2 separate regions of the Homo sapiens genome follow, and region 2 is linked to region 1. The links are contacts of gene promoters, found by promoter capture Hi-C in blood cells and fetal thymus (Javierre and others, 2016). All regions are on one chromosome and are shown on one strand. Each heading gives the region's core, a stretch centred on a gene start or on the middle of the fragment in contact. The rest is flanking DNA. Distances are from core to core; before and after follow the strand shown. Region 1 overlaps B4GALNT1 (beta-1,4-N-acetyl-galactosaminyltransferase 1). Region 2 holds the start of AGAP2-AS1 (AGAP2 antisense RNA 1).

Evidence for each region. The method cuts DNA at HindIII sites, captures the fragments that hold promoters and counts their contacts. A CHiCAGO score of 5 or more calls a contact.
Region 2: the fragment with the promoter of AGAP2-AS1 here is called in contact with a fragment that was not itself captured in region 1 in 3 of 17 cell types (M1 macrophages, naive B cells and M2 macrophages); the score reaches 5.4 in M1 macrophages.

Annotation. Positions count from the first base shown.
Region 1 is chr12:57,624,692-57,631,168 of GRCh38, reverse strand. It overlaps B4GALNT1 (beta-1,4-N-acetyl-galactosaminyltransferase 1), which reads left to right. Exons shown (of 11, transcript NM_001478.5): 4 at 83-189; 5 at 651-691; 6 at 837-1,017; 7 at 2,023-2,121; 8 at 2,266-2,456; 9 at 2,907-3,047; 10 at 3,311-3,551; 11 at 4,208-6,477. The coding sequence ends at 4,425. It also overlaps the pseudogene SLC26A10P. Among named protein-coding and RNA genes, the nearest start is that of B4GALNT1, 5.3 kb to the left of the region's middle. The HindIII fragment of the contact is 1,284 bases long and covers 2,606-3,889 here.
Region 2 is chr12:57,722,292-57,728,951 of GRCh38, reverse strand. It overlaps AGAP2-AS1 (AGAP2 antisense RNA 1), which reads right to left and starts at 2,712. Exons shown (of 2, transcript NR_027032.1): 1 at 2,574-2,712; 2 at 596-1,987. AGAP2 (ArfGAP with GTPase domain, ankyrin repeat and PH domain 2) reads left to right here. Exons shown (of 19, transcript NM_001122772.3): 14 at 575-634; 15 at 867-1,015; 16 at 1,181-1,271; 17 at 1,370-1,592; 18 at 1,723-1,978; 19 at 2,158-3,755. The coding sequence ends at 2,400. RefSeq lists enhancers at 861-1,494, 1,495-2,130. The HindIII fragment of the contact is 18,142 bases long and covers 1-6,660 here.

The DNA.
Region 1 (6,477 bases), core at 1,998-4,497:
AGGGGGAGAGCAGTGATTGTGCCGGGAGGGAGAGACCCTCTCCCCCCGACTCTGCTCTGTCCTCTCCTTCCTCCACTGCCAGGAGCCAGTCCCCAGCTGACCAGCTGCTCATAGCCCCTGCCAACTCCCCGCTCCAGTACCCCCTACAGGGTGTGGAAGTTCAGCCCCTCAGGAGCATCTTGGTGCCAGGTAGGGAGGAGGGTCCCAGAGGATGACCTCAGCCACAGTGGGGGTGGCAGAGCCCAAGGTTGGGTGGGGAAGAATGGGAGATGATTGGAATGGGAGGTGGGAACCTCTGATGAATGGGGGACTTAAGCTCAAACGGCGGCTTAGGAGGTGGGAAGTGAGGACAGAAGGGACTCTAGGAATTTCAGAAGACTGTAACTGGGGAGTTTTGGGGGAAATAATCTATTCTTTGCTGACTAACCATTGGTTAGGTGGTGGTCAGGGCAGGCCATAGGGCAAGCTTTGACGGGACGGGCTCAAAAATCAGTCACTGTAGGCTATGTTATACAGTGTGCCCTGCTGAGGCCTCAATAAGAAGAATAGGTGGAAAGTTCTCTATTGTGTGTGGTGACAGCAGGGAGAGAAAATGAGAAAGAATTCAGGGCTGCCTATGTGATTCTGATCCCCCCACTCCTTTCTCCTAGGGCTGAGCCTTCAGGCAGCTTCTGGTCAGGAGGTATACCAGGTGAGAGAAAACAAGAAGGCAAGGAGGCCAAGTAGGCATCAAGAATGCTGGGAGGGAGGCAGGGCTACTAAGGGAAGGATGGGCGAATCAGGGAGGCAAGAAGTGGGTCTGGGGCCTAACCCTGCACTCTCCAATCCCCTCCTAGGTGAACCTGACTGCCTCCCTAGGCACCTGGGACGTGGCAGGGGAAGTGACTGGAGTTACTCTCACTGGAGAGGGTCAGGCAGATCTCACCCTTGTCAGCCCAGGGCTGGACCAACTCAACAGGCAACTACAACTGGTCACTTACAGCAGCCGAAGCTACCAGACCAACACAGCAGACACAGGTGCAAGGCCTGGGTGGAGAGACGGGCAGGCTGGGCAAACAGAGAAGAACCAGAAAGGCTGGAGTGGGCAAATGGCAGAGGGCATGGGAGGCATCTGGGCTATGGCCAGAGCTGTCCAGCCACACAATGGGTGCTTCAACTGGACCAGCAGGGCCAGAGGGAGAAAGGGGGCCTTTGTTCATCTGGGGCTGGAGCAGGCCAGAGGGAAACCCGAGCCTTGGGTGTGTCTCCCCTTTAGGCCAACTGTGGGGGGCCCCAGGAAGAGACTTGTCTAAGGAGTTAGAAGACTATATTCCCAACCCACCCCTTACTAGAGGGCAAAGGTCTTTACTTTCCTGAGATCCCATTTCTCTTCCAGCAAAAGAGGCCTAAAAGCCCTCTTTGCTTCTCCCCAAAGCTGGTTTGTTGCACTAAGTTTGCTTCCACCTTAGGGCCTTTGCACTTTCTATTTTCTCAGCCTGGAATGCTCTTCCCCAGATTTTTGCAGACTGGCTTCTTCTTGTCATTTAGATCTCAGTTCAAATGCCTCCTCTTCACTATCACATTACTTGTTTGTCTTATTTTCCACTCAATACTTACCAGTATCTGAATTTTTTAATTTACTTAGCCTGGCACCAGACTGACTAGGTTGCTATCAGTTTTGTTGCTTAATAGTTGTGTAAATGTGGCAAGTTACTTTTCTGTGTCTCAGCTTTTTTTTCTGTTGTAGGAATCTACTTAATAGGGCTATCATGGGGATAAAATGAGTGCATATATTTAAGGTAATTTTTTAACGGGTCTGGCACATAGTAAGTGCTCAATAAAGATTAGCTTTTACTTAAAATTTTCTTTGTTGTTTTTTCTCCTACCCATTAGAATGTAAGTTCCATAAAGGTAAGAACCTTCTGTTCTTGTCCACCAAGGCCTAGAAAGGTGGGACACAGAGTAGGCACTTAAATATTGATTGGCTGAAAACAGAATGTTATCCCACCCTTCAGGGTCAAATGCCATGTCCTTTCTTCCCAGTCCGGTTCTCCACCGAGGGACATGAGGCTGCTTTCACTATCCGCATAAGACACCCGCCCAACCCTCGGCTGTACCCACCTGGGTCTCTACCCCAGGGAGGTGAGGCTGGTAGGGGCAGGGACATATTAGAACCAGCCTTGGTGGGGAGCAAGTTGGGAGAGGGCAGTCCTGGGAGGGGATATCTACCTGTTCCCCTCTCCCAACCCTCCTTGTCTGCACCCAACCCTGTGCCCCCAATCTCAGCCCAGTACAACATCAGCGCTCTAGTCACGATTGCCACCAAGACCTTCCTCCGTTATGATCGGCTACGGGCTCTCATCACCAGTATCCGCCGCTTCTACCCAACGGTTACCGTGGTCATCGCTGACGACAGCGACAAGCCAGAGCGCGTTAGTGGCCCCTACGTGGAACACTATCTCATGCCCTTCGGCAAGGTGTGCAGCTAGCAGGCTGAACGGCAGGCCAGAGGACTCCCGCAGGGGGTGTGCCCTCAATCTGCAGCCTCCAGGGTAGTGATTCGAGGACCACCTGCCTCAGAATCATGGGGTGCCTGTTAAGCATGAGGATTCCTGGAATGTAAGCTTCGTGGGAGCAGGAAATTCTCTCTGAATTCTTAGAATGGTGCTTAGTGCCTAATGGCATTCAATAAAATAGCTGATGAATGAATAAATAAATGCACACGGAAATTAAACGCATTCTAAGACCACTGACTTGGAACCTCTGTGGGGATCTGCATTTCTTTTACCTAGCTCCTGGCCTTTCGAAAGCACTCAAAAGTCTGGAGAAGAATACAAGCTGAGAAGGGTCGGGGGAGAGAAAGAAAGGTGGCAGAGGGCCATGTCCTATTTCTGCAGCCTCCCCAACCACACACACCTTTCTGCCAGGGCTGGTTCGCAGGCCGGAACCTGGCCGTGTCTCAAGTAACCACCAAGTACGTGCTGTGGGTGGACGACGACTTCGTCTTCACGGCGCGGACGCGGCTGGAGAGGCTTGTGGACGTGCTGGAGCGGACGCCGCTGGACCTGGTAGGGCAGGGGCTGCAGGATGTGGGGGTGGAGAAGGGCCTTGAACAGGCTAAGGCCACAGCGGGGGCGCTGCGGCCAGGAACGGCCAGCCCTAGGACAAAGAGAGAACCACGAAGTGGGGCCTGGGAACTGTCTGGGTCCTGCAGGGGTGAAGCGGAAGAGGATGGGGCAGGGGTACCCCCGAAGGCACCGGAGCGCAGACCTTGACCCCTTCGGGTCCCCTATCCCAGGCCCGCCTGGAGGCAACCTCCCTCTCCCTGCAGGTGGGGGGCGCGGTGCGCGAGATCTCCGGCTTTGCCACCACTTATCGGCAGCTGCTGAGCGTGGAGCCCGGCGCCCCAGGCCTCGGGAACTGCCTCCGGCAAAGGCGCGGCTTCCACCACGAGCTCGTCGGCTTCCCAGGCTGCGTGGTCACCGACGGCGTGGTTAACTTCTTCCTGGCGCGGACTGACAAGGTGCGCGAGGTCGGTTTCGACCCCCGCCTCAGCCGCGTGGCTCATCTGGGTGAGTGGCACCCCCTCCCGGTCGACCCTGGCAGGAGCCCCACGGGGAGCTGGCGCACGGTCACGCGCCTCTCCTCCTAGGCTGCACCCGCGCCCAGCCGCCAGCGGGAACCCCAGAACAGTTCTGCAGTGATTTACCAAGACCTGCACCTGGGCGAGAGACAGCTCCCACCCTCTCCCAGCCCCGCATACTCTTTTTTTTTTTTTATAAATATATATATTTTTTGTTATACTTTAAGTTCTAGGGTACATGTGCACAACGTGCAGGTTTGTTACATGTGTATACATGTGCCATGTTGAATCTCCATTCCCAGCACAGCCGCTGGGCCCCCATAAGCTTCCCCATCACTGTTCCCGCCACCCCTGCTCTACTCCCAGGGCTTCCCCTAGTTCAGACCACAGTCGGTGCAACCCATCTGGCGTTTATTTAACCTCTGGGAGTAGGGGTAGGTTTTTCGATTTTCAAAGCACAAGTATATTGACTCCATTTACACAAGAGTAAGACTGAGACCCAGGGAGTTGATTTACATGCTCAGGGTCCTTAGAAACAAGCCTTTGCACACACACTTTCCACACCCTAAATTTGAGAGTTCTCCCTTACCAGTCGGCCTTCTGCACCCTCAGGATCCCTCACTGTGTACTCCCCTCCACCCCCAGAATTCTTCTTGGATGGGCTTGGTTCCCTTCGGGTTGGCTCCTGCTCCGACGTCGTGGTGGATCATGCATCCAAACTGAAGCTGCCTTGGACATCAAGGGATGCCGGAGCAGAGACTTACGCCCGGTACCGTTACCCAGGATCACTGGACGAGAGCCAGATGGCCAAACACCGGCTGCTCTTCTTCAAACACCGGCTGCAGTGCATGACCTCCCAGTGATGGCCCGCTGGGGATTTCTGACTGTCAGGCTGGGCCTGCCTCCTTGTCCCTGCCAGGAATTTCCAACAAACCCCACCACCCTGTGAGCACTCTACTGGCTGTCCCTGAGCCTCTAGTTCCTCACTCTTCCTTTTCAGAACCTGATGCCCAGTAGGGGTTGTCCTGGTGACACCCCTCCTTTTTCCAGTGCCCAGAGGCCTGGTGGAGCCATAACCTCTCCCACAGCCAGTGCCAAGTCCTCCCCCTGCCCATTCTCATGGGGCAGGAAATGGGGGGATCACTTTCCAAGTGCCAAAGAGCCCAGAGGGACTCTAAGAACCTAAGGTGGAAACACTGTCCTCTCATCTTGGGACCGAGGGGGTGGGGAAGTTCCCCAACACATAATCCCAAGACTGTGCCCCTCATCTGCATCTTCAGATCCAGTACTCTGTGTACCTGCTCCAGCCCCACCCCCACAGAGAGAACTTGTGGCTCTGGGGCTGGGGTGAGGGCTGGTGGTTGGTGAAAGCCATTCTTAGTTGTGTCTCTGCAATGCTGTGGGCACAAAAGAAGGGGCACCAGAGTCCCTGTGCAAACACCTAGACTCACTTCATGGATTCCAAAGCTCTCAGCTTCATTTTATTAGTTACGTTAGGTAAGGGGGTTCAAGGGTCATGGTCCTCATCACACACATGTCATCAGGGCCCTCTGCACTCCACATGATGAGGTCAGACCCACACGGTGCAAATCTTTGGGTCAGTGAGCTCCTGGAGAAGAGAGGAGACATGTCAGGAATAGATTAGGCACCCCTCTTCCTTAATGAAATGTGGCAGTCCTCTCAGGGGTACCCCACCTACTTAGGGATCTGAGTTCTTCAGTTCCTCACCCATAGCTCAGCCCGGGCTCCCTGATTTGGTCTTCAATCTACTATTCATTCCGTCCCCACCCTTTTCTTCTTGATCTTCCTCAGACCCTTTCCCAAACCCCTCTCCCTGGGTCTCCAGCCACTTACCCCTGCCTCACTTGCCGCAGCCCAGTGCCTCCTGGCTCCCGCTCCTGGTGCTACTGCCCCTTAACAGGCTCCCCAGGGCATAAGCAGCTGCATCCTGCACACTCACAAACAGCTGATCTGGAGTCACCCTGTCCAGGAGTCCTACCCGGGTCAGTGTCCCCTGCACCAAGGCTATGTGGGGAGGGTGTCAGACTCTGAGACCCTAAGTCCACACCGGGTCCTTTTCCCTACCGCAGGTGTCCAGTCATTGCCCAGGCACTGGGCCCCGCTCTTCTCCACACATCTCACCATTACACTGAGCCAGGAGGAGGCGGATCCTAGCATCTCGACATCGGCTGGCCAGCTGCAGGGATGGGGCAAAGGGGTTAAGTCCCAGATCAGAGGGTATGAGTGAGATGCTAAGGGGTTTCTCCTCAACCTACCCTCTCCCTCACCTGCACCACTTCTCTGGCCCCAGCAGCATCTGCAAAGGTGACACCACTGAAGTCTAGGACCACCACCCTGACAGGCTCAGCAACTAGAATGGGAGAAGACAGGAGTACCCAGGTGTCACCATGCAACATGCCCAAATCTTCCTTCTTGTCACCCCATCTCACCTGCAACCATTGGGCCATCTGGCTTTGAAGTCTCCTATAAGTAAAGAAGGGCAGTCACCACTCCCGAAACACAGCATGAACATGCACCCCTTGAGCACAAGGATCCCCCTCAGAACACCCACCTGCCTCCCACTCCCTGAGGATCCACATCCCTCCTAAACCAAGCTCCTTCACCTTTTCTCCTTCTCCGAGCCCCAGGTGCCACTCCAGGTTGCAGCGAAACTGCCCACGGGTCCCAAAGTACAGTGGTGTTGGATAGCTCAGGATGCAGAGCCCCGGGACCTGGAGGAGCTAAGAGGTCAAAGGATCAGAGAAATGTCTGGGGCTAATCTTCCCTTCCTTCTTTGGCTGCAGCCCACCCACCCTGGGGCTTCCTCTGAGTGGTCTGTAGAGCTCTGTCCCCTCAGCCTGTCCAAGTGCCAGGCACTACACCCTAGGGAAGAAGGTGGGGCCAGATTTCCAGCT
Region 2 (6,660 bases), core at 1,463-3,962, 98 kb before region 1:
TGCCCGCCTCGGCCTCCCAAAGTGCTGGGATTACAGGCGGTGGGGATTACAGGCATGAGTCACCGTGCCCGGCCTTCTCCCGATAACTTTCTATTGCCAAGTGCTCCCCAACAGCCCTTGACCATAGTGATCCCCATTCTTGTCCCTCAGTGATTCCCCGCACCCCCACCGCCACCAGCCCCAGGGCCCTCTCATCTCAGCCCTGCGCCCCAGCTTCTGTCCCCTTCCCCCGTGTTCACTCAGATCCTGACCCTCCCTTCTTCTCCCAGAGGTCCAGCTCCTCGCTGGTCTTGATAACCCATCCCTGCTGCCCCTGCTCTCTGCCGGGTGCTCAGACCCAGGTTCCAGATCTGCCTACTCTCATGGCTCTTGGCTTCTGTTCCACTCTGCTCCGGGGCCACTGACTTTAGTTCTGCTTTCTCTCCCCATCTGTCTGTCCTGCTTTGTCTCTGGCACTCTGTCACTATCTCTCTCCATCTCTCCATCTACCTGTCTTTTTCTCCTTCTTTCTTGGTCTCTCTTTCTCTGTTCTGCTCTCCATTCTATCTCTATCTCCTTCGCTTCGGGAAACCAGCCAAGCGCAAAATGTGGAAACTAAAATCCTTTGGTAGTTTAAGAAATATTTATAAAGCAGGTAACAAGTGGGGAGCCGGGAGGGGCGCTCAGCTGGGGTGCAGAAGGGTGGGGGTGCCCCCGCCTTCCCCTGCATGTGCTCGGGCTTCCTGCTGCCCCCCACCCTCTGCTTTCCCTACCCCCACTGCCCCACTCCCAGGGGCTCGGGATGGACATCAGGGAGGACGGTCTTGGGAAAGGCAGCCCCTGCTTGAACTCTGTCCCTTAATGACCCCATCCCATCCCCCACTCAGAGGAAAACTTTGAGTTCCTGATCGTGTCCAGCACGGGTCAGACGTGGCACTTTGAGGCAGCCAGTTTTGAGGAGCGGGATGCCTGGGTCCAGGCCATCGAGAGTCAGATCCTAGCCAGTCTGCAATGCTGTGAGAGCAGCAAGGTCAAGGTAAGAGTTTGAGGTGGAGTGGAGGACTGGCCGCAGGAACTGACCCTGGTGCTGACGGCCATTGGCAACGACACGGCCGAAGTCGTGTGAGAGGAGAGCAGAGGTGTCTGAGAAGGAGGTGGGGCTTGGAGGCAGAGTCAGTGCCAACCCAAACCCTCTCTGCAGCTGCGCACAGACAGCCAAAGCGAGGCCGTGGCCATCCAGGCGATCCGGAACGCCAAGGGGAATTCAATCTGCGTGGACTGCGGGGCCCCCAGTGAGTGCCAGGAGGCAGCGGAGGGGCTAGGGAGTGTAGTGAATGCCGGGGTGCCTGTGCTGCCCGGCTGGGAGCCGACCTCTACGCTCCTTCCGCAGACCCCACGTGGGCCAGCTTGAACCTGGGCGCCCTCATCTGCATCGAGTGTTCTGGCATCCACCGCAACCTGGGCACACACCTGTCCCGCGTTCGCTCGCTGGACTTGGACGACTGGCCACGGGAGCTGACCCTGGTGCTGACGGCTATTGGCAACGACACGGCCAACCGCGTGTGGGAAAGCGACACGCGAGGCCGTGCCAAGCCCTCGCGGGACTCTTCGCGGTAAGCGTGAGGGAACAGAGCGGGGGGAGGGTTGCTGAGGGTGTGCGAACCTGAGACGGTCCCGTGGGTAGGGGCAGAAGTCCTGGCTGGGGGTCCCTAGAGCCTTTTCCGTTGATCCCTGGTCTTGCAGGGAGGAGCGCGAGTCGTGGATTCGCGCCAAGTACGAGCAGCTACTGTTCCTGGCGCCGCTGAGCACCTCGGAGGAGCCGCTGGGCCGCCAGCTGTGGGCCGCCGTGCAGGCCCAGGACGTGGCTACCGTTCTCCTGCTTTTGGCCCATGCGCGACACGGGCCGCTCGACACCAGCGTAGAGGACCCACAGCTGCGCTCCCCACTCCACCTGGCGGCCGAGCTCGCCCACGTCGTCATCACGCAACTGCTGCTGTGGGTACGTGAGCTGGGGGGAGGAAAGGGGGTCTTTGAGGCTTCATCTCGGAAAACGCCTGGCGCGGGAAAGCCCGAAATTCCCAGAGGGACCCCGGAAGTAGGCTTGGCCATGTGGGGGAGGCGGCGCCGGGTGTGGGCGCCCTGGGGACGCGCGGTCACGCGGCCGTTTCCGCCCTCTAGTACGGCGCGGACGTGGCGGCCCGTGACGCCCAGGGCCGCACGGCGCTGTTCTACGCCCGCCAGGCTGGAAGCCAGCTGTGCGCCGACATCCTTCTCCAGCACGGCTGCCCGGGTGAGGGCGGCAGCGCGGCCACCACGCCCAGCGCGGCCACCACGCCCAGCATCACCGCCACGCCCAGCCCCCGCCGCCGGAGCAGCGCCGCTAGCGTGGGCCGCGCCGACGCCCCGGTTGCGCTGGTATAGTTGCCCAGCGGGAGAGACACCCCCATCCCCACGCGGGCCGGGCACGACCACACCGGGCGGACCGCTGGACAGACGCACCCACTCACCTCTCCGATCCGCACCCCGCCCCACGGGAGCACTTCCTACCCCCACGAGGGCACAGCCCCCACGCCTTCCAGAAGACACAAACTCACCTCCCTCTCCCCAACGAGGCATGGAGACCCCAGCTCAACACGCCCCCTCTCCATTGTTTCCACACTCGGATTGCTCTGGGTCTACCCGCTCGGGGTTCGCGGAAGGGGAGGTCCCCAGCGGTACGGGCTCCTAGGCGCTTGGACATGCCCGCTTGTGCCCCCTAGGGGCGGAAAGAAGACCCGGTCCTGCCCGAGCTCAACAATCCCAGGGCGGGAGCCCATACCCAGGCTGGCTCCTGGGGCGACGCCACGCCAGAGGGAGGGTTTAGTACATGGGAGGGCTAGCCCCGGGACTTGGGGCCAATACGGAAACCCTACCCCTTCCATGCTCATCTCACTGCCCAGTGAAGGGGGCAAGGGCAGCGAGGGGCAGGACCCCTGCTGCTCATGGGGGTGGGGGTTCCCAACCCTTTCCGTGAAAGGGACCGTGAGTAGTGGAAACCAGGACGTCCCCTACACCTACCCATGGGTGGAAGCTAAAGAGTCCGGGGGGAACCAAGAGCCTGGGTCCCTCCCACTACTATCTTGGGAGGGAGAAGGGATGGAGCAGGAGCGGGCTAAGAGGGCTGCGGGGGCCTTGTAATTTATTGCTTTGTTCCCCAACATGGGGATGGGGGCGGGCAGGGGCGTGGGGAGGGCGTTTTGGGGTAGGGGAAGCCCAGGGTGGGCAGGGGGTGGGTTGGGGTGGGGGTGCTCTCGGGTTGTGTCTGTGACCGTGACTGCGTACCTGTGACTGTGCAGCGCCCGTGGTGATCTGGGGTAGGGGGCACCCCTACAGTGGGACCCCTCCCCCATTATTCTTTCTGTCCAGCCCCTCCCTCCCACTGGAGCAGCTCCAGAGCCATTCCTCACCCCCGTGACCTCTCCCAGCCAGGGCTGAGAGGATTCGAGGTGGCTGGGAGGGTTTCCAGGCCCCCTGCCCCTTCCCCACAAACTGGGTGATAGGGCGGACTTACCTGGCCCAGCCCTGCCTCCCTCAGCCAACCCAGCCCTTGGGCTGTCTGTGTCAGTGGTTTCCGGTCTTTTTTTTTTTTTTTTTTTCTGGCTAAAATAGTTTGCAAAGGACCAGGTAATTGGGGAGGGGAGAGAGGTGGGGGCAAGGGGGAAATGCCCCCCCATCTCCTTGGAGGCAGTGGTGTGAATCTTCTTCAACAGCAATTAAAGAGGAAGTGATTTTGTCTAGGGGGTGAGCTGCTGGTCTGTTCTTGGAGGCAGGTCAGGGCATGGCCTTGGTCAAGATGGGGTACTGGGGTTGGACAGGGACAGGCAGAGGTGCCTCCCACTGGGGCTGGTGGCAGGACAGTACCCATGGGCATGGAGGTGGTTCCATCATGTACAACAGTTCTGGGTTCATGTAGTGGAGGACGTGGGCAGGTTGGAGTCAGTGGGGACCCTGGGAACAGAGAAGGCACTGACTCTTAAGATGATGCCAGTCCTGGGAGAGTTGGGATATGGTACTTAGAGGAGAGGACAGGCCCATGGAGAGGGGTGGGAAGATGGGACAGCTTTGTTTAAGAGCAGGAACTTTGGAGACAGATCTGATTTTGAAACCTGCCCCTCCACTGCACAGCTAGGGGACCTTGGTGGCATCTGTTTATCTGTATTCTGAACAGTATCTGTTCAGAGGGCACCTGAAAGGCGCTCCAGCTCTGAGGAGGGCTGCCCCGAGCCAGCCTGCTCACCGTGAGCACTAGGTACCAGAGTAGAACATAGAGTAGGGGTTCCTCCCCTGGCCTCGTCAGGGGGTGTTCCAGAGGGAAGGGGTGGGAGACCTCCTGGGAAAGATTTCCCAGCTAGCTGCAGAGGTCCCTGGTGTCCACAAACTCAGTGTCAGCTGATGCAGGCATTTATCCACCTCCGTGCCATCAAAGGGACCACCAAGGCCACAGCGGCCTGAAGCCGGTGCTGCCTCCATGAGCTGCAGTGCCACTAGGCTCAGCACATAGCCAATCCTACCATTTCTCGAGGGCAGCTGAAAGTGTTTACTCAGGTAGAGGGGCTGGACAGGGTAGGGTTGGGTCAGCAGCCAGTGCAGGTTGGGCACAGCCATATGTTGTTATCTACCTTGAGGAGTTAGTTGGTAGCACCAGCATCTTTGGGTAGAATTGCTTCTGACCCTTGGTGCCCACCAGCCCCAAGAGGTTCAGCTGCAAGTGTGCCACTGAACTGAGGACACAGCACCAGACCTGAATCCAGTTCACATGGAGGCTGCGGCTCTACAGGGTCCTAGGCTGTGACCACCCAGCACAGCGGCGTGACCCAGGAAAGGTGGATTCAACAGTGCAGGTGCAGTGACAAGTACAGAGGCAGGTGTGTGGTCTGGGCAAAGCGACAAGAGGGGGGAGGTAGCAAAGAAGATTGGACTAGAGGACCTGGCCGTTCCCCCTTCACCTCCAAGACCCTGGACTCTCTTATTTCAGCTCCACTCCTTCCTCGTGGCCAAAGTTTGCTCCCTTCTTCAGAAGTTTGGGAGTGTGAGAGAATATGGGAAGGAAATAAGGACCCTGGAGAGAATGAAATTGCCTTCAAAGAGCAAGTGGGAAGTTCCTTTCATTTCCAGCCAGTGAAAAATGGTCAAGGTGTCAGCAAACCTCACAACAAATCCCAACACCAAGTAATCCACTTGCCTCTTGTCTTAATGGGGAGTGTCTTTGGTCTTGCGGGGGAGATGTAAAGGGTGGTAGTGGATGGAATGACAAAATATCAAGCCCTCCAGGTTATGACAAAATAGGAGCCCAGAAGGGGACTCCCTGGGTGGGTGAAGGAGAGCTGCTGCCCCTTTGTGCCCATGCCCCCTTCACAGCTCACCCTGGGCTGCCTTGCTTGGATGCCCTGCCATGCAGGATGCCCTATTGCCATCCGCCAGCCCTCCCTGCAGCCCTGCTGGCTGCCATCTGCCACACCCTGCTCCCCTCCTTTTGTTTGTCTTAGCACAGCTGGGGCAGACCGACCTTCACCATGGGAGTGCTGCCGCCAAAAGCCAAAGGAAAGGAAAAAGGAATTTCGATTGAAAGTACAAAATGATTAACAGAGTGAGATTTCCAGAACTCTGCTTTCTGGTGATGCTGAGACTCCATCCCCAGCAAATCAAAGCACAGCCCTCCTGCCCCAGCCCCTTCCCATTCTGAGCTTCTGATCAGCTTTGGGGACTCCTTCTGAGACTCTTGCCTCCAAGTAACCCAGTCTTTTCAGAACTCAGGAGTTGGCTTATAATAGAAAGCTAGTGAGCACTTACTTGGGGCCAGGTTCTGTGCTAAAAGCACGACATACACTCTATCTCATTCAATCCTCGCAACCATCTTAAAAAGCCAGTACTGTTGTCCACAATTTACCAATGAGGAAACAGCATTTAGAAAGTTAAGTGACTTGTTCAAGGGTCCGCTGGTGGGAGATGAGGGGTGCGGTCTGGGAGCTGCATTCTGACTACTGCTGCCCTCAAGGCAGTGTCTAAGCTCTTGTCCAGCTGGAGCATCCCTCCCTCAGGGGGCGCAGATGGACCAGAGGAAGCAGGGTTTTCTGAGTCTACCTATTTACACTTCAAAACAAAACAACGTAAGCATAGCATGCACAGTAAGCACTAGTCCACGTTCAGCAAGAGCTTCCTTCAACAGTTGAATCCTTCACTCTCCATTTATAGACACATGGGAGTTCTGGGCCCTCTATCCTTTTTTTTTTTTTTTTTTTTTTATTTGAGACAGTCTCACTCTGTCGCCCAGGTTGGAGTGCAGTGGTGTGATCTCAGCTCACCACAACCTCCGCCTCCCAGGTTCAAGCGATTCTCCTGCTCAGCCTCCCGTGTAGCTGGGATTATGGGCGTGCGCCACCACACTCGGCTAATTTTTTGTATTTTTAGTAGAGATGGGGTTTCACGATGTTGGCCAGGCTGGTCTCGAACTCCTGGCCTCAAGTGATCCGCCCGCCTCAGCCTCCCAAAGTACTGGGATTACAGGGGTGAGCCACTGCTCCCGGCCCCTCTATCCCTTTTCTTATCCTGTGAGCCCGGGGGCAGCCTTCAGCAGAAAGGCCGTTCACCTCAGAGACCAGAGCAGAGGACTCTACCTGAGTCCTCTGCACTCAAAATTAGCAG